Regions from separate parts of the Homo sapiens genome. Here regions 2, 3 and 4 are each linked to region 1. Evidence: promoter capture Hi-C in human tissues and cell types (Jung and others, 2019). All regions are on one chromosome and are shown on one strand. The core of a region is centred on a gene start or on the middle of the fragment in contact, and the rest is flanking DNA. Distances in the headings are between cores, read along the strand shown.

What was found. Contacts are between HindIII fragments. The study calls those that stand out against the background at their distance.
Region 2: a contact is called between a fragment that was not itself captured here and the fragment with the promoter of EBPL in region 1, in 2 of the 25 tissues and cell types used here (dorsolateral prefrontal cortex and mesenchymal stem cells).
Region 3: a contact is called between a fragment that was not itself captured here and the fragment with the promoter of EBPL in region 1, in 1 of the 25 tissues and cell types used here (mesenchymal stem cells).
Region 4: a contact is called between a fragment that was not itself captured here and the fragment with the promoter of EBPL in region 1, in 1 of the 25 tissues and cell types used here (hippocampus).

Annotation. Positions count from the first base shown.
Region 1 is chr13:49,689,037-49,694,192 of GRCh38, forward strand. It overlaps EBPL (EBP like), which reads right to left and starts at 2,450. Exons shown (of 4, transcript NM_032565.5): 1 at 2,218-2,450. The coding sequence starts at 2,388. RefSeq lists an enhancer at 1,745-2,742 and silencers at 2,206-2,345, 2,376-2,575. The HindIII fragment of the contact is 15,697 bases long and covers 1-5,156 here.
Region 2 is chr13:50,893,481-50,898,636 of GRCh38, forward strand. The region is part of intron 1 of RNASEH2B-AS1 (RNASEH2B antisense RNA 1); the gene reads right to left. Among named protein-coding and RNA genes, the nearest start is that of RNASEH2B, 14 kb to the right of the region's middle. RefSeq lists enhancers at 96-635, 106-255. The HindIII fragment of the contact is 3,873 bases long and covers 1-3,785 here.
Region 3 is chr13:50,802,361-50,807,516 of GRCh38, forward strand. It overlaps a transcript of DLEU7 not described here. Among named protein-coding and RNA genes, the nearest start is that of DLEU7-AS1, 2.9 kb to the right of the region's middle. The HindIII fragment of the contact is 3,253 bases long and covers 1,117-4,369 here.
Region 4 is chr13:50,757,913-50,763,068 of GRCh38, forward strand. It overlaps a transcript of DLEU7 not described here. Among named protein-coding and RNA genes, the nearest start is that of DLEU7-AS1, 47 kb to the right of the region's middle. The HindIII fragment of the contact is 6,650 bases long and covers 1-5,156 here.

The DNA of each region.
Region 1 (5,156 bases), core at 1,200-3,699:
ATCAAATATAAGATACATCCCAATTTAGAGACATTAAAATATCAATCAAATGGCCTACAGTAGTTACATGATGTAGTTGATTCTTCTAATATGTGAAAAAATGTGGGTCTTAGACTTGGAGAACTAAGGTATGGTGTATTCACACAGTGGACTACTTTGCAGCTGGGGTAGGTAATGGCACAAAAGGAGGTGTGTGTCGTGTTACCTGTAACAACCTGAGCTTGAAAAGTAAACAGTCTTAAACCAAGTGGTGAACACACGCATATAGTTTAAGTATTTTTACAGCTTTTTGTTTGTCTAAGGTATGTTAAACATTTTTCTTTTTTTTCCCAAGATAGAGTCTTGCTCTGTTGCCCAGGCTGGAGTGCAGTGGCTTGATCATGGCTCACTACAACCTCCACCTTCCAGGTTCAAGCAATTCTCCTGCCTCAGCCACCCGGGTAGCTGAGATTATGGGCACCGTCACCACACCTGGCTAATTTTTGTATATTTAGTACAGACGGGGTTTCACCATGTTGGCCAGGCTGGTCTTGAACTCCTGACCTCGTGATCCACCCGCCTCAGCCTCCCAAAATGCTGGGATTACAGGCATGAGCCACTGTGTCCGATATGTTATACATTTTTATATATATACATTCTGATATGCTATATACAGTTATACCCAGCCAATATGTTACACAGTTTTCTCTCACTGGGCCTAGCAACATTTTTGTTATGTTATACATTTTGTTATACATTTTTTCTAACCGGGCCTAGCAATCTGCTTTATCTCCCTTGTTCTGTGGGAAACCTTGTGTTCAAGTGATAGCTTAAAAATCAATTCTCGGCTGGTGGCGGTGGCGGTGGCTCACGCCTGTCATCCCAGCACTTTGGGAGGCCAAGGTGGGCAGATCATCTGATGTTAGGGGTTTGAGACCAGTCTGGCCAACATAGTGAAACCTCATCTCTACTAAAAACACAAAAATTAGCTGGGCGTGGTGACGGGCGCCCGTAATCCCAGCTACTCGGGAGGCTGAGGCAGGAGAATAGCTTTAACCCAAGGGGCGGAGGTTGCAGTGAGCCGAGATAGTGCCACTACACTCCAGCCTGGGCAACAGTGTTAGACTCTGTCTCAAGAACAACAACAAAAAAAAAGACAAAAAAAAAAAAAAAGAATTCTATAAATAAAGGAGTTGAGAGAAACATTCACTGTCCCTTATCTCTACATGTTGATTATCAGAATAAAAAGAATTCCAGCAACATCAGTCATGGGCACAAAGCCAACCCGTAAACATTTACAGAACTCGATGATTACCCAAAACTCGGCTTGCTTTCTCAATACTACTGACTTTGGCTTCACATTAGCCACAGGTGTGTCTAGAGTTAAACAAGGTCAACTTTACAAAAAAAAAAAAAAACAAACTGATACTTGGGCATAGTTTAAAAAAAACTTAAAAGTGTGTGTGTGTGTGTGCGTGCGCGTGTGTGGTGGGGGGCGGGGCATTTCAATATAAATGCCTTAAACACAACCTTCCTGGCTATTTTATAAAATGGGTTGAATCTCTAAGGACACATATTTCCTAAGACCTCGACTGATACACAGAGTGCAAACTTGGGAGCCAGACTAGACTGCCTCAGAATCATGCCAGCTGTGTGGCACTGGAAAGTCACCTAATTTTGCAGCGCCTACCTTCACCTCTGTAAAATGGGGAACAATAATAACTAATTTATGGATGCTGTAAAGATCTGAAATTTTAAACTCAGTAATGCGCCTGGCACACATTAGACACGGGTGTTTCGTTTGTCTTGGCAAAGGCTTCGGGTTTTGCGACAATAGCCTTGCTGCCTCCGGAGCAAGCATCTCTCCTTGCCCCCTCTGGGGCATTTAAAAATGACCTCAATTCTACTCTCAATTATGTCCAGTTCAACAGTTACGTGCAGGTTACAAAGCCGAGGAAGCTGAGGTATCTTCTAAACTAACATAGCACGTACAGAATTTTTTTAAAGTTTGGTGGAGGAATCGGCAGCACAAGGTAAGCTGCGCTCTGTTCACAGACCTGGGAATCAGAACTCCGGCCGCCGCGGCCTCCAGGCGCCTCTCAGCTAACAGACTTCCTGCAGCAGGGGGAGGGGCGGCCAGCTCGCTGCAAAAAGCCGCAGGACCCCCTCACCCCGCCTTGCCGCCCCCGCTCCCACTCTCTGGGATGGGGAGTGCAGGGTCTAGGCGATGGCACTTACCAGCGCGAAGTGCACCAGCGCGTCGTAGCAGAGCCAGATGAGCGCCCCGCGGTCCGCCGCCCCCTGCCCGCGGCCCAGGCGCAGGCCCAGGGCGCAGCCCGCCGCCAGCAGCGCGGCGCACAGCAGCAGCGAACCGCCAGCCTCGGCCCCCAGCTCCCACTCAGCGCCCATGCTTCAGGCTTCCGACGCCAACGGCCCAGGACCATGCGGCAGAGGAAAGCAGGGAGAGAAACGACGGGGCGGGGCTGGCCGGGAAGGGGCGGAGCCGGATGGCCAAGGAGGAGCGGAGCTGATTGGCCAAGGCGGTCCGGGGAGGGACGGGGCTCCCCGGCCGGGTCGGGGCCAGAGCGAGGATTCCGTGCCCGCCTCGCACCCTGGCCAGCCTGCTGAGTCCGGTGGTTTTGCCAGGTGCCGCCCATGGAGGTTCCGTAGAAGGAACGTGCTCACCAACTTGCGCAACCGCCTCGACCAAACCTGTTCCCAAACCGAGCCCAAAGGATTGGTAATAGGGCCACACCTTTTGATGTTGTTTCGCTTTTAACAAGGCTCAAACTTTAAGCCACAAAGTGAAGCCTAGGTAGTGGAAATTTTGCCAGTAGACCGGGGCAGAATTTTAGGGGCAAAAGGTTTTAATTAGGCTGCAGCAAGCCTTACCAGGGAGGCTGGGGGCCAAGGGAGTTTTCAGCCACCAGCCGGCTTAAAGCCTTTATGGCCTACTCTGACAATCTTTCCATTTCTTAAAAATCCAGAAAAGTAGAAGGGTGGGTGAGAGGAGCGGTAAGTCCTATTGGCTTGGCGATAGATGCGTTTAACCTGTGGCAGGCCAGGTTTCACTATCGCAGGCCTCCATCACAACTGCTTCAGCACTGAGTGGTTAAATTAAATATTAAAAGCTGAGGCCGGGCGCGGTGGCTCACGCCTGTAATCCCAGCACTTTTTGCCAAGGCGGGCGGATCACGAGGTCAGGAAATCGAGACCATCCTGGCTAACACGGCGAAACCACGTCTCTACTAAAAATACAAAAAATTAGCCGGGCGTGGTGACGGGCGCCTGTAGTCCCAGCTACTCCGGAGGCTGAGGCAGGAGAATGGCGTGAACCCGGGAGGCGGAGCTTGCAGTGAGCCGAGATCGCGCCACTGCACTCCAGCCTGGGCAACAGAGCGAGACTCCGTCTCAAAAAACAAAAAAAAAATTAAAAGCTGAAAGAGTCAGTGCCCATATACCAAAGTCTGGAATGTAACAAAAGCCCACCAAGAGTTTTGCCTAGGCCTTTCTTGGGCCTTGAAGCATGACAAGATAACTAAGGAATTTTTAACAGGACCCGTTTAGGATTAAACAAGTTTTATTGGGGGTCTGAAGAAACTCCCCAGGCCTCCAAAAACAAGTTTATTGGGAGTCTGGAGGAATTCCACAAGCCTCCATGATTTAGCAAGAGACAAAATAAGGGTAATCATCCCAGCACCCAGACCTATTTAGATTAAGTAAATTTACTGAGGCTCCAGAGGAAGGTCTTCAGGATTAGAAGTTGTTAATCACTTACGTCTTTAGATGAATGCACTCTTACACGTAGACATATAGCTTAGAAGGTATATACGCTCTGGAAAAACTTTGTAATTATGAGTTGGTCTGGCAATAATTTCCAGACCTTCTCCCTGTAACCGGTTGCAGAAATAAAAACTCTTCTTCCCCAGTTCATCTGCACCTCATTATTGGGCTGCCCAACCCCCAGTTTGGTCCGGGAACAAACCTACATTATTTAACATCACAACAACCCTATGAGGTCGGTGAAATAAGCCAGTCACAAAAACATACTTATGATTCCACTTACAGGAAATATCTAAAATAATCAATTTGCAGAAACAAAATAGAATGATGGTTACCAGGGGTGGGGCGGGGCGGGAGTGGGGGGGGGGCGCGGGGAAAAGTGGAGTGTTATTTATTCGGATAGTTTGATTTGCAAGATGATGTTCTGGAGATTGGTTGCACAACAACGTGAACATACTTTACTGAGCTGCACACTTAAAAATGGTTAAGATGGCAAATTTTATGTGTATTTTACAGTTATTAAAAAAAATGCTGGCACTGAACACAAGAAATTTTTCCCTTAGTCACTTCCTATACCATTTTTTATAGCAGTTAACACCAGATAGAATGATCCTTGTTTACACACTTATTGCTAATCTCCTGCCACTATAATGTAAGTCTTCAAGGCCAGGGGTTGTGGCTAGCTTTTTTATTGCTGTATCCCTGGCACCTATTACAGAGTTTGGCATATATTAGCTGCTCAGTTAAATAACTGGCGACTGAGTATGGTCAATCTAGCCACCTATGCTCTGGATCCTGTCCTGTAACTAACTTATCATCCTTTAGGGACCACTCGGCCCACCTCCCCTTCAGAGCAAAATAGAAACTTAATGAAAAAACTGATCAGATCCCCTGTCTTCATGTCTTGACCCTGCTCCTCAGTCCTTTCTACTCTGGTTTCTGCCTTATCACACTGATATAGCTCTCACTAAGGTGACTACTGGCCTCCACATCACTGAACCCCAAGAACAGTTCATTTTCTTAGTGTAGTTTACTTCTCAGCAGCATCCCAGCACTGAAATATTTTTCCTTTGGTTTTCTGAGAATACAGCCTCCTTAGCCATTCTGTTTCCTTTGCAAGTGCATCTTCCACTACAAATGCCTAGTGAATGCTGCAGCTCCACAACCCAGTCCTCGGCCCTGTTCTCACTCCAGACCCCAAATCCAGGCAGTCTCATCCTTACCCTCTGCTTTAATGACCAGCAAAACCTGCAGAGAACTCAAATCTCTAGCCTGGTCCTATTCTCTGGACTCCAGACCAGTATTTCCAACTGCCCTACTTGACAGTCACTTGGATGTCTCAATATAACCCAAACTGAGCTCATCACTTTCCACCCCAATGTCTGATTCTCCTT
Region 2 (5,156 bases), core at 599-3,098, 1.2 Mb after region 1:
ATAACAGACTGTTAACAAAAATCTTAAATAGCTATTCTAATCATCAACAGCAATCTTACACAAATTAAATTAGGCCCAAAGGGCCCGATTAACTTTAAAATGCCTTACAGGCATGAAACATAAATTTAACTTATTTTCCCCCTTTGGAGTAGAAAGAGAGTTGTTCAGTGTGACTCAGATGCACAGTTTAAAAAAAAAAAAAGTATGCATGCTGTGAAGACATGGAGACAGGGTTTCATTTTCTTTTTCAGGAAACCACACTTACAGGCATTGAAATTCAGTTAGGCCACAGCCATGCTCCCTGTTTACATGCAAAGTAGATGCATTAAGGTTTTCAAGGTTTTAAAGTAGATGCATTAAGGTAGAGTTTTTGCAGATGGCACAGCTACTCTAATCAGCTCAAGGAAGTCCTATTGCTAAAGAAAGGAGACATATATCAACATGCATTAACATTAAAATGATGCCTTCAGAAGAGGTAAAAGTTGAACTAGAATTTCTGTAGTTCAAACCCACCTATCAAGAAATGGGTTAGATTCATGATTTAAAATTATACCACAAATCAAAGAAAAAATACTTTTTTAAGTGTCTGCTCTTCTTTATTTTAGCCAAATCTCTAGAGGTCTGTCCAAATATATTTCTTGAATTTTCTTGAACTAGCCAGCAGGTTCATCACTTGTGGATTTGCTGTAGTCTCCAATCCTCACAAGTGTTTGATAGCTTTTCTTAGGCAACTTCCTTCCAGCTGCATGGAACATGTAATTTCGGCCCAAGTCAATAGCAGTGAATGAGAAACCCAGATGCCAGGGAAAGGCAGCCTCCCAATAGATAGAAAACACCTGAAACTGGTGATCAGCAGCTTCCGGATAAGATCTCAGGAGTTGGGCCAGTGGGTTCAAGCATGCACACTAAGAGGCAAAATGGCAGAGTTTGACTGGTATATGACCTTCTAGGAGCAATCAACTGGTAAGAGAAGAGTGCTTCAAGTAAGCATGTGTACAACTCCAGTAAACACACTGCGCATGCGGCCCCTCCCAAGCACTAGCACACAAGTGGTCAGCCCACCCCAAGGGAAGAATCAGGGGAGAGGGGACCCAAGACCCTGTAAGTATGTCAGCATATAAAACTCAAAGTCAAAAGGTCAAACTGTGTACTTGATCTCCCAAGTTGCTTGCTTGGCCCTCTTCCAAGTGTACTTTACTCCCTTTCATTCCTGCTCTAAAGCTTTTTAATACACTTTCACCACTGCTCTAAAACTTGCCTCAGTCTCTCACTCTGCCTTATGCCCCTGAGCCAAATTCTTTCTTCTGAGAAGGTAAGAATTGTTGCTGCAGACCTATACAGATTCACCGCCAGTAACACTTTCAGCTCTTACAAGACCATTATAGACACCCGTGCTTGTCAACAACCTCCTGCTCTGATAACCTCAACATAAATTTATTTCATCAAACAGCAGATGCTCTCTTGTCCCACCAGCCCAGACACCAGTGGGTGAGAGTCATGGAAGGTGTTCATTTTCTGCAAAATATTCATTAGTACTTTAGAGAACCAAAGTAATTTTCAGAAAACTACCTATTTTCCAAATACCTCAGAGGAAACTGACCATATCTGGATCACTGGTGATAGAACCTAATTAGGTGAAGCCAATGGCAGTCTTCCATCCCCTGAGATTAGTACAGGGATGGGCACCATAATCCGAGATGAAATAAGCAGAATAAAAACAAGGACTCATATTTCATGTTACATTGTATACCAGGAAGTATATATCCCCCATGGCCACTGGCAGCCATATTGCGAGCACAAGGAGAACCAGTCTTAGGATGAAACTAATGCTGCCCTACCTTTGAAATCCAGTTATGTAGATAAATGTTCTTATTGCATACACAAGCTTGAGTCAGGTATTTTGATTCCTCGTAGGTGAAACTACTTAATTAATTTAAGTGGTCTTATGAGTAATTTGTACTCCAATGTCTCTGAAATTTTCCTAGAATTTAACTACTAATCCCAGGGACTGGGCCAGAAGAAGCTCTAAGTAGTAAACAATATAACTCAATGTTGTCCTCTTTTTCCAGTGCTAGAGCACTGTGGTTGACCCAAGGGTGTGAGCTTCTTTTAGTGGGTTATTCTCCCAAGATAATTCTATCATTATGCAACTAGACTTTTCCTACCCACCTGAAAAATAGGCCCTGTTATACCCTACGATGTCAAGCTAGGCTCATGCTGGAACTCCCAAAACATGAACAAATGTAGTTTTATAAAGTTTGAGCTGAAAAAATGTTGTGTTTTTTTTTTTTTCTTTTAGTTTATTCAGCTTAATCCCCTCTTTTTAGGTAAACCTACAATGGGGAAATGACTTGACTAAGAAAGCAATAGACTAGACCTAGAGATAGGACAGAGCCCAAGGCTTCAGTTCTGTGCTCGACCTGCTGTCCTGGTACACTGAGGCTGAAAACTCATTTCCAGCACCCCTTCTCAATGGCACATGAACATTATATAAACACTGTATAGTTAAGTCGTCTGAATTTTTCATTTTTGCCATATTAGCTGTTATTACTGTTATTGGTGTTTTCTGAGAAATAACTAGCTCACAGTGCTTAGATGCAGTGAAAATCTAAAGGACAAACCATTTGGAAAAGAGTTTAAAGCTCCAAGTTAAGGTTCAGCATCAGTTGTCCTACTGATGTTGAGGTTATCTGATTATACTTAGGCTTCTTAAGCATGTTCTAAAATAATCAAGTAATCAGTTAACAAAACACCCTATATTTTAATATAAAAAAGCACAAATAGCAAGATGAACTTTTATTTTATAAAGAATCCATATTAAATGCTTAATTATGAACGTTGCTGCTAAAGAAGTCTTTGAAATGTCATTTTCAATATATCCTTGACCTACTTAAGAACAGACACTTGTTTCTTTTCTCCATCCTCAAATTTAGAAATCTCTGGCTGATTTTTAAAGCATTTTGTAGATCACATCAAGTTAAAAAGCTTCTGCACAGCAAAGAAAACAATCAACAGAATGAAGAGAAAACCCACAGAAATATTTGCAAACTACCCAACTGACAAGGAATTCATAACCAGGAAATGTAAGGCGCTCAAACAACTTTACAGGAAAAAAATCTAATAACCCAATTTAAAAATAGACAAAAGATCTGAATAGACATTTCTCCAAAGAAGACATGCAAATGGCAAACAGGTGTATGAAAAGGTGCTCAACATCATGATCATTAGAGACATGCAAATCAAAACTACAATGAAATATCATTTCACCCCAGTTAAAGTGGCTTTTATCCAAAACACAGGCAATAACAAATGCTGGCGAGGATGTGCAGAAAAGAGAACACTTACACACTGTTGGTGGGAATGTAAATTAGTACAACCACTGTGGAGAACAGCTTGGAGGTTCCTAAAAAAAGCTGTAAATAAAGCTGCCATATGATCCAGCAATCTCACTGCTGAGTATAGACCCAAAAGAAAGGAAACCAGTATATCAAAGAGATATCTGCACTCCCATATTTATTGCAACACAATTCACAATAGCCAGGATTTGGAAGCAACCTAAGTGTCCATAGACAGATGAATAGATAAAGAAAACGTGGTACATGCACACAATGGAGCATTATTCAACCATAAAAAAGAATGAGATCCTGTCATTTGCAACAACATGGATGGAACCAGAGGTCATTATGTTAAGTGAAATAAGCCAGACACAGAAAGACCAACTTTGCATGTTCTCACTTATTTGTGGGAGCTAAAAATTAAAATCATTGAACTCATGGAGATAGAGAGTAGAAGGATGGCTACTAGAGGCTGTGAAGAGTAGTGGTGGAGGTGGCAGGGAGTGGTGATGGTTAATGGGTACAAAAAAAATGGTTGGAAAGAATGAATAAAACCTAGTATTTTGACAGCACAACAGCATGACTATAGTCAATAATGATTTTATTGTACATTTAAAAACAACTGAAAGAGGATGATTGGATTGTTTGTAGCACAAAGGATAAATGCTTGAGGTGATAGATACTCCATTTACTTTGATGTGATTATTACACATTGCATGCCTGTATCAAAATACCCCATAAATATATACACTTATGTACCCACGAAAATTAAAAATTTAAAAATAAATAAATAAAAAGCAATCCGTGACCACCAATTATTCAGCTATTTCACTTCATCACCTCCTGTATTCTCTGAAACATCTGCACTATAGCCAGAAACTTCCATTTAACAACATGCTATGGTATTCGGGAGTATTCCTCCCTCAGGTTTCAGCCTATGTTTACCCTATACCTGAAATGCCCTCTCAACCAACTCTTCCATGACAGTTCAAGTTCCATTCATCCTATGGGGCTCTTTATAAATGCCTTCTCATTCATGATGAGTCCAGCCCATACTGATTGTCCTTACCTTTTCTTGCTTTCACAACTGTGCTACCGATTGTTGTGTTATGGTTTTTTTTTAATATTTCATGTGTGGATTTTTTCAAATTTGATTGTAAGCTGTTAAAGAATAAGCAATGATGTTTTTCTTTCTTACATGCATTCTACAGAGCATCTTGCACATATGGAAGTTGAAAGCTCCTCTACAAGCTTACTGATTGATGGATAGAAATAACTAGAGTACAAGTGAAGTGGTGCCCTCTTTGCCTTCCTCCCCTCTCCAGGGCCTTCACTGCCACTGTCCTGTTAGAGTACCATTAACTTCCAATGTTAGAACAGGCTCTTGATGGCTGAGGACCAAGTTTTGTTTGTTTGTTTTTGTTCTCTTCCACTGCGTTCTTTCTGCCTTGCTGTAGATTCTGAGTAGATCAGTTAAGATCTTCACGCCTATAGAAATGGCAGACAGAATCTCAAATTTTAAAGGACAACTAGGATGTTGATAATCTCTTCTGGTTCCAAGTAGGGTAGAGCATAAGCTGTTTCAGCAAAGTTCTTGTTCTCAAAATCCCCAGGCAATCTTAGGTGTCTTGCAGAGATATGAAGTTATTTCTAATATCTAATCTAAATCTCTGTCTGCCACTCAAGTCTCTTCCCTTTATCACAACCCTAAGTGAAAACAGGAACTAGGGCTTTCTTTGCTGAAAACCGTGTCCACACCATATAGCTATTTTTAAAAAGATGTATTCCCAGCTTATCTTCTTTACAAGTTAAGGACATGGT
Region 3 (5,156 bases), core at 1,493-3,992, 1.1 Mb after region 1:
GTCAGAAAGAAAGAACTAAGCAAAACCATTTAATTAGTGCTCCTGACTCTCAAGAAAGCTGGAGCCAAAAATGAAATTCTTAGATAGCAAGCCCATGTTCTTCATATTGGTGTCTTCATTTAGAAAGCGACAGTACCTATGTCAACAGCTATGTTGAGAAATATTAAGCAGAAATGAAGAAAATGCAATATATATCAAAAATTGAATAAAATTTTCTCCATGGTTGTTCTTGTTTCAATGCCCTCAAAAACTAATTTAAATATTTTATTTAATTTTGAATAGGTCATACATATTTGGGGTACTAAACTTGGATGGCACAAAAGGATATACACTAAAGAGTAACTCTCCCTCTTATCTCTGTCACTGAGACAACCAGTTCTCCTCACAGGAGGCGACCTGAATTACTAATTATATATGGATATTTCCAGATATGTTTTATATGTCTGTACATGTGTATATCATACATGTACATGTACTTTTTTACACAGTTGGGACCACGCTATTTATACTTATCTGTGCCTTGTCTTTTTATCCACATAACAATAGAGCTTAAATAGGCTTCTACATTATTACATAATATATTTTCTTATTAGTTTTTATCACACGGCACTTCATTGTGTAATGTTTCATAATTTATTTAACCTGTTCCCTATTGATAACGTTTAGGCAGTTTCAGATTTTTACATGTATAACCAATAGCCTAACAGGTCATTGGTACATAAATCATTTCACACATTTGCAAATACATCTGTAGGAAACATTCCTCAAATTGGAATTGCTAGGTCAAAGGTATGTGCATTTGTCATTTTGATAGATATTGACAAATTTCCCTCAACTAAGATTGTACGAATTTATACTTTAACCATCAGTGTGTGAAACGACTCACTCTCCCCTTCCTCATGGACTCAGCATGTTATAGAATGTGTTGATCATTGTCAATCTGATGTGAAGTAATATTTTCTGATAATTTAACTTGAAATTCTCTCAACTTTAGTGAATTAATAATGCTTTGCCCTTTTTTATTAGGTTGTTAGACATTTCCTTATTGATATAATTCTCTCTATATTAGAATATTCTACATTAATAAAATTAACCCATTAAAGTGTGTCAAATATGGTAGCCACCAGCCCCATGTGGCTCTTGAACACTTGAAATGTGGCTAGTTCCAATTGTGATGCACAGTAATTATAAAATACACACCAGATTTCTTGGAACAAAAAGGAATAGAAATATCTTATTTATAATATTTTGTATTGATTACTTATTGAAATAAAATTATTTTTGATATGACAAATTAAATAAAACATATTACTAAAATTAATTTCTTTAATTAAAGAAAAAAGGTGATGCATTTCTTTAAAAAACAGACTTCTTTTTACTTTTTACACTAACTACTAGAAAATTTAGAATTACACGTGTAGCTTACATTGTATTTCCATTGACAGTGCTAGTCTACTATGTGAGCTGCAAATTTTTTGCCCAGTTTATTTTTATATTGTCAGATTCATCAGTTTTTTGTTATGACTTCTGAGATTTGTAATGGACTTAAAGAGATCTTCCTTACTACAATACTTTTAAAACTTTTCCATGGTGGGTCCTAGTATTTTTATATTTTTATTAACGTGGAAATCTTTGATTCATCAGGAAATCATTTTGATGTAAGGTCTGAGGTTAGAATCCAATATTAATTTTTTAGAGGGCTAGAATGAACAACATTTATTAATTTCACCCTTTTCCCACTAATTGAAATGTCATCACGTCCTAAATATTTTAATGTCAGGTAGGGCTAGTACCATGTATTTTCTATTTTTTCCCCTGAATTTTCCTGGTTATTCCTGCTTGTTTTTTTCCTTTATATGAACTTTAGAATCATATATAGACTCCCAAATTTTATTGATATTCTTATAGGACCTGTATTAAATGTTTATATTTTTTTAGAGAGAATTGAAAACTGTCTGATACTGAGTTTCCCTCACCAAGAATATAATATACTTTTATATCTGTTCAAGTGTTCTTTTGTGTCCACAAGAGACAGTGTAATGTTGTTCGTTTTATGGGGTTTTTTTTTTTTCTGTTGTTGTTGTTTTTGTTTTTGAGACAGAGTCTCACTCTGTCACCCAGGCTGGAGTGTGGAGTGCAGTGGCATGATCTCAGCTCACTGCAATCTCTGCCTCCTGGGTTCAAGTGATTCTCCTGCCTCAGCCTCCTGAGTAGCTGCAACCACAGGCATGCACCACCACACCCAGCTATTTTTTAAAAATTTTTATTAGAGATGGGATTTCACCATGTTGGTCAGGCTGGTCTCGAACTCCTGACCTCAGGTGATCCGCCAGCCTAGGCCTCTCAAAGTGCTGGGATTGCAGGTAGGAGCCACCACGTCCAGCCAGTTAAAGATTTTACATAGGTTTTCACATCTGACAAATTTATTCTAAATATTTTCTAGTGATATTGCTATCAAAAATGAAGTATTTTCTTCTATTATGCCTTTTTTATTTTAATATAGGAAGGATGATGATTGTATATATTTACTTTATAACCAAAGACCTAACTGAATTCCACTATTGTTCTAATATTTTTTTTCAGTTGGCTCACTTTTTATATAATAAAATTTTTACTTTTATAATCTACAAGCAATTATTATTTGTCTTTTTCTTTTCTAATTTGTATACATTTTCTTTCTCTCTTGTAAAACTGCATTGCTTAGGATGTCTAGATCAACGTCTATGAATAGTTGTGGTAGTAGACATTCTTGTCTTGTTCCTGACATTAATATAAATATTTCTGAGTTTCCTTATAGATTATAGCACTAGCTTTTAGATTGAGATTAGTATATTGCACTAGGTTAAGGAAGTATCTATTGCCATTTATTGACAGTTTTGTTTTGTTGTTTATTTGCTTGTTTAGTAAGAATGGATGTTGGAGTTTATCAAATGTCTCTCAGCATCTAGAAACATGATTTTTAATCTATTAGTGTGGTAGAAATATATTAATAGATTTCCTAATATTGAACCATCCTTGCATTCTAGAATAAATATAATTGCTCATGGTGTGTTAGTTTTTTAATGTGTAATTGGATTTTGTTTAATAATGCTTTATATTCATAATTTTTGTGTAATAATCCTAACAGTTATTGTTTTATTATTTTGATTTTCTTCTTCAAGAACACCAATTATGCATATGTTTGATTTTTTTATATATTTTGCATCTATCATATAACCCTTTTAAATATCTTTTTTATTTATTCTTTTTACTCATTTTTTTCTAATTCCGTCTTCCACATGTCTAGCTATGCTTTCAGCAATGCCCTGTCTTCTTTGTGCAGTTTCCTACCACTTCTCATTCAGCTTTATCGCCTTTCCTTTTTCTAGAAACCTCACCACTTTGAGGCCCAGGGAAGCACTCAGTCAAGCTGACACACCCTTATTGCTAGAGAACAAATATCAGCAAACTATAGCCCATTGGCTAGCTTTCTTTTTTGGGAAGTAAAGTTTTATTGGAATATAGATATGCCCATTTGTTTATTGTACATGGTTGCTTCAGCACTACAGTGGCAGAATTTGATAGTTATGGCAGAGACCATATGGCCCAGAAATTCTAAAATATTTACTATTTGGTTGTATAAGAAGTGGTTTGCTGCCCTCTATTGTAAAAACCTCCATTTACATTTCAGTATGTATCACTTAGAATTGTGCTTTTATGACTTTCTTGAAGCTCAGAATCCACAGGCATCTTCACTCTGGTACTTCCTATGTCCTATGCCACTAAGTCTTCTCTCTCTCTCATTTAAAAATCTCTGTTGTTTCCTAGTTTTACAAAGGATAAGCTTTGCATTACTGTTTTTCTTGATTCCCTTGATGTTTTGGTTGGTTTTTCTGAGATATGAATAAGAAAATACTCACTTAGCTCTGCATGTTAAAATTGGAAGTCCTCAGATAATATTCCAAGAAATTATTTTTTATTTTCATCTTTGGTTGGTTGTTTTTTGACCATTGGATAGAGATCTTAGCATACTAAATGTCTTTATCCTGAATATATAGAGATTTTCTCTCCTTAATTTAATGATTTTATGACTTCTGCAATTCTTTTAGTGATTATTTAGTTCTCAATGAAGAACATAAACACAACTTTTTAAAAAACATGTATTAGTAAGGAAAAATTTGTTTTATATTTTCTATTGCCCTAAATTCTGACTCATATTAGACAGCTCGGAGTAATATTTAATACTTGAAACTTCACAAGTAATTACAAATAAATAAATGCTATAAATATTAAAAAATAGGAGCAATCTCAACTTTATCCTCACATTTTTCTGCTAAGACTTATTTAGTTACATATTGGGCTTATTTTAAAATTTAACCAAAATTATTTGATCTTTAATTATGTTTTTACCTAGAAATGTATATTTAAAAATAAAGTGTAATTCCAGTTGTATTTATACTATTCAGAATTTCAGAAGTCTGTAATCCCAGCTACTCGGGAGGCTGAGGCAGGAGAATTGCTTGAGCCTGGGAAGTGGAGGTTGCAATGAGCAGAGATCGCACCATTGCACTCCAGCCTGGGTGACAGAGCTAGACTCACTGCACTCTAGCCTGGGTGACAGAGCTAGACTCCCTCTCAAAAAAAAAAAAAAAAAAAAAAGTCGGTCTGCTCCTCTGCCTTTTTTTTTCCTACTTTTAAGAGTAGTCTGCCTCCGCAAACTTTAGTAAAGAAGTACTAAAATTAAGTGTGTTAAATGGTGTTAAGATATATATAAAAATTAATTTTTAAAGAGAGTTTAGATTGTTATCTTTAAATTTTTTTATACATTTCATAAAACATAAGTATTTCCTAATCATTAATAGGTTTTAATGAGCTTTAGTAGATGAGCAGAAATATCAGAGATATAAAATGATACTATACCGGCTTCCTTAAGAAGCTTTCTATTATTTCTTAGAATCCTGCTTTATTCTCTTTCTTGAATTCATACATGGCATTTAAAAATCTCTTAAAGATGGTCATCAAAAACAAACAAATTTTTTAAAAGATGGTATTTGACATCTCCCCTCCCTCCTCCTGCTTCTCTCAAGCACCAGTTTCCAGGTACCACTGCCTATAAAGCCTTTTCCAAACACAAATTTAATCTTTGAGTGTTGAGGTTTTTTTGGTGTTTTTTTTTT
Region 4 (5,156 bases), core at 1,657-4,156, 1.1 Mb after region 1:
CCAACTCCATCATATCTTCAGAACAATTCTTCTAGACCTTGCATCTAAATATGGTAAGTGTGAAATATATTTTATACCTAACTTGGTCCCCAGTATTATTTTCATTACCAAGATTTTTTTTTTTTTTTTTTTTTTTTTGAGATGAGGTTTAGCTATGTTGCCCAGGTTGGTCTCAAATTGCTGGCCTTAAGCAATCCTCCCACCTCAGCCTCCCAAAGTGGTAGAATTACAGGTGTGAGTCACTACACCTGGCCCCAAGATGTATTTTTAACCATAATTGGAGCAAGCAACATGTTTAATGGGGAAAATAGATAATTTTTGAATTTTGTGATTTGGAAGCTTATTGTTAACAGTGCTAAAGAAACGTTAAAAACACTCCAAAATGTGTCTTTAAGACTGTGGTACACATTGATCAAAGTGAGAAGATAACCAGTTAATTAAGGTTTCTTTTGTCCTTATTTCACTCTTGTATTAGTTATCCACTGCTGCATAACAAATGGCCCCCAAAGTGAGCAGTGTAAAAAAAATTTATTATGTCAGTTTCACAGTATTCACAGTTTCCGTGAGTCAGGAATCCCAGTATTTCTCAGCTGGGTGCCTCTGGCTCAGTAGCTTTCATGAAGCTGCAGTTAAGCAGTCACTTAGGGCTGGGGCTGTGGGGCTGTGGTCTCCACTGAAGACTCCACCGGGGGAAGTCAGCTCTAAGCCCACTTACCTGCTGGTTGCCAGGCCTCATGGGCAGTTGGACAGAGGGCTCTATTTCCCACTGTTGGCTGAAGGCCTCCCTCAGTTCCTTGTCACATGAACCTCTCCACAGGGCTGACTATAAACACAACTGGCTTTCTCCAGAGTGAGGGATGAGAGAGAAGGAGAAAGAGGATACTCAAGAAAGAAGCCATAGTCTTTTTATGACTAAATCTCAGGAGTGGCACTCCTTTACTTAGCTATTGTTTTCTATTCACTGGAAGTGAGTCACTATGTCCAGCCCACATTCAAGGGGAGAAGATTGCAGAAGGAAGCAAGGATAATTGGAGCCCATCTTAGGCTTACCACAGCCCCCATTTCCAAATATTTTAATGTGTAATCCTCAATGGAGAATGTCTTGAACTAGTGTCACTGAGATTCTTCAATCATTAGCTACCACAAGAAAATCGGAATTCCTTTGAAAATTCATTTCAAACTAGTTCATCCAATTTGCAAACACATTCCCTTAGACAGGGGTTGATTTATTCCTCATCTTTGTAACCTCCTTTTCCACTCCCCCCATATACATATTTTCCATTTTAAGCCTAGTCTATCAGCTTCATTTAGAGATATCTGGAAGGAACAAAGAAACAAACACAAAAATATCTGACTGACATAACATACTAGCTGTATGGCTTCAGTAAAATCACTTAACTATTATGGGTCTTGGTTCCTTCATCTACTGGAAGAATGGCTTGATCCCAATGATCTCTTAGGCCTCCCACAGATTTAGAAGTTTATGAGATTTTGATTCCATGTGTGTAAACTAGGGATGGAACTAAATGTGTGGCAGAAATAAAGACTTCAGAGGTCTATAGTGAAAGTTAAATGAATAAGTTTTGGGAGTTTTATGAAGCACTTTGTACACTCTAAAGTCCTATGCACATGTAAGGGCTTATTCTTATTTAGCCCTTATCATGAATAGATCAGGGCAGAAGGGCACAGTAGTGATAGTAGTCTTCTTATTCAGCTAGTCAGGTGGCCCCCAGTGTCACTCTCTTAGATCCATTCTTTCCCAGTGGAAAAACACCAGGAAGGGAGTCAGCAGAGGAAGTGACCCAGTGGAAGAAGTGACCCGTGAGGGAAATATTGGACCTATTTTAGATTCTCAGTGTGCTAAGAACTCAGGGGGCTTCTGTGACTTCTCTGAGTTACCCTGGATCTCCACGTACACTCTTTGGCCACCCCTCCACAGCAAGAACTTCTCTCCTGGAGCCCAGTCCTGCAAATTCTCTCTTCCCTCTGCCAGCCACCTTCCATCCTTTGGACCCTCCCTTCTGAGATCCTACTATTCCTTGGATAGTGACCCCCCATGTAGCTCATCAGTCAGTGTCAGCTCTACCTGGTTCCATAGCAAATTGCTAAATATGAGGTCTTTTACGTATTCTTGAGTATACACTTTATGCATACAAAAGATCATTCAGGGGTTTGGTCTGGTTTTTAGACAGCAATGTTAGATTTATTCAAGCTCTATATTTAAAAATGCAATTCATATTTAGGCTTTTGTGTTCATCTTATAAATCCTATTTTACTTGTAAAATAAAAACTTCTGCCAAATTTTAGCAATCACAGTTAAGGATCCCTTGAATAATATTTGGTCTCATTTTATAAAGCAAGCTAATTAAACATCTTTGAATACTTTCAATTACACTTACAAATATAAGTACTTTTAAGCACTTCAGTATTCTTTTTTTTGGTGGGAGCTGGGGGCAATGGGAGGGCAGGGACAGGGTCTCACTCTGTTGCCCAGGCTGGAGTTCACTGGCATGATCATAGTTCACAGCAGCCTCAAACTCGTGGGCTCAAGCAATCCTCCTGCCTCAGCCTCACAAGTCGCTAGGATTACAGGCATGTGCCACCAGGTCTGGCTAACTTTTGTATTTTTTGTAGAGATGAGGGTCTTGCTATGTTGACCAGGCTGGTCTCAAACTCCTGGCCTCAAGTGATCCTTCTGCCGTGGCTTCCCAAGTGTTGGGATTACAGGCGTGAGCCACTGTGCCTGGCCCAATTTTCTAATAGTAAAACTTCCCATGCATGTAAGTATTTACTGAAAATTTAATCAAGCAAATTTCTAAATGTGATGAATCTTAAATTTAAGAAAATGTTCATATATTGTTTATAAATTTAGTAAATACATTAGCCAGTATAGGTTAGGCTATGGTATGATAGCAAATAAGCCTGAAATCTTGATGGCTTAAATGTGTCAAAGAGAATTCAGCCTCATCAGATACCCCTGGCAGTCAGAGTGGGGCCTATGATTCATTTGGGGCAATGAAAATTTGTGGTATTTCCAAGTAGAAGCAGTCAAGAACAGCATGTCTCCTCCATCTCTCCTTTTCTTGTGAAAGTGACTTGGATGGTGCAGCCACTGGATGGGGGAGGCCATGTGGTCCACACTGTATTTGCCTGAAGGAGAAACACACCTGGATTGTGTTGTGAGAGACCATGAAAGACTGAATTGTCCACTGGGGATCCCGTCCTTGCTCAGAAAAAATCAACCAGAGCACCATTCATATCAGCTTTTATTCAAAAATACCAGGCATGAGAAGGATCCAAAGGGGCGTTGTAACTTGGGGAAGGAGGGCAGAATGTTTTATAGAGCTTTAGCAGGAAGGTGTCAGCTGAAGTTCAGCCATCGGCAGCAGTGGTTTGTCAAAAGAGTTTGAGAAGGGGGACGAATTGTTTTAGTGAATTAGCAGTGATGATTTGAGTGATCTGAATTTTATCAAAAGGGGTGGAGTGGAACAGTTAGGGGCTAATGTCATGTGCAAAAAAAAGAGGGAAGAGGAAACCCAGCTGTTGGGGCAAGGACATGTGGGATCCCTAGTGGACAATTCAGTCTTTCATGCTGTCTCACAACATGATCCAGGTGTGTTTCTCCTTCAGGCAAATACAGTGTGGATCACATGGCCTCTCCCATCCAATGCCTGCACCAACCAGGTCGCTTTCACAAGGAAAGGAGAGATGGAGGAGACATGCCTGCTCTTGATGCTTCTACTTGGAAGTACCACAAGTTTTCATTGCCCCAAATGAATCATGGGCCCCAATCTGACTGCCAGAGGCATCTGGTGAGGCTGAATTCTCTTTGACACATTAAAGTTTTATCTAAAACCACAAGTCTAAATCAAAAAGTATTCAATTATGCCTCTTAAATGGGCATTTTAAAGCTGACCTGTTATTCTAATAGGCAATTTCTTTAAAACATTAATGAAATATACCAAATAAGTAGAGATTCTTAACTTGAAAATATTGGGCCGGGCACGGTGGCTCACGCCTGTAATCCCAGCACTTTGGGAGGCCGAGGTGGGTGGATCACAGGGTCAGGAGTTCAAGACCTGCCTGGCCAAGATGGTGAAACCCCATCTCTACTAAAAATACAAAAAAAATTAGCCAGGCGTGGTGGTGGGCACCTGTAATCCCAGCTACTCGGGAGGCTGAGGCAGAGAATTGCTTGAGCCCGGGAGGCGGAGGTTGCAGTGAGCCAAGATCGCACCACTGCACTCCAGCCTGGGTGACAGAGCGAGACTCGTCTCAAAAAAAAAAAAAAAAAAAAAAGAAAAGAAAATATCAGTGATACAGTTTTGATTCTCTAAAAGACTTATATGTTTAGTTCTGTGTCTTCCCAGGGTTTCTGACTATGCAATGTTTGGGGATTACGACTATCACAAGCAGGGATTTTAGCCAGGATGCTGACTGCATGAATTAATGCCTACTCCTGGAGCATTATAATTAAAATACAGACTTATCATTCTCAGAATCTAGACAGCTCATATCCCTGCTGTGCTCACGGAACAGGGTAAAGCCCAGGTCGGAACCTATCCTGGCTGCTGCCTCACTATTATGGGTGGCATTTCTTTGCCTCTCAAGGCCTACAAATGTCTTTTTCATCTAAATCCAATAGCTTTGAACTTGATGGAAGCTTGCATTCTTTTCACAACTTTTATGGGTGTCAACACATTAAATGGAGGAGAAAGAAAGAAGCTGTATACATCTTGAAGGCGGGGATTAAAGGAGAAGATGCCACCAAGGTGGTTTAAGAATGGAACTCTTCCTACCCCAGGCCACCCCACAAAACAAAACAAAAAAACAACAAAAACACACTCTCACACTGAAGAGGTTAATCTCCTGCCCTTTATTGTGCTAGAAAAAAAAAAAAAAAAAGCAACAGCCGCCTCCCCAAGATTACAAAAAGTCCCCCTGCATCCAGGAAAGATCTGCATCCAGGAAGGGATGTTGCAGGGAGAGAAAGAATCACAGGTGAAAAGATAAAGTTCTTCCCACCAGTGTGCCTCCAACTGGTGGAGAGAAAGTGCCCTGCAGACCCACAAGTGCATATGTAATGGTAGCCCTAGGTCTGCTTGGGTCTTTAGGAAAGGAGACAACACCAGAGAGGTGGGAAGGCAGCTGCCTGG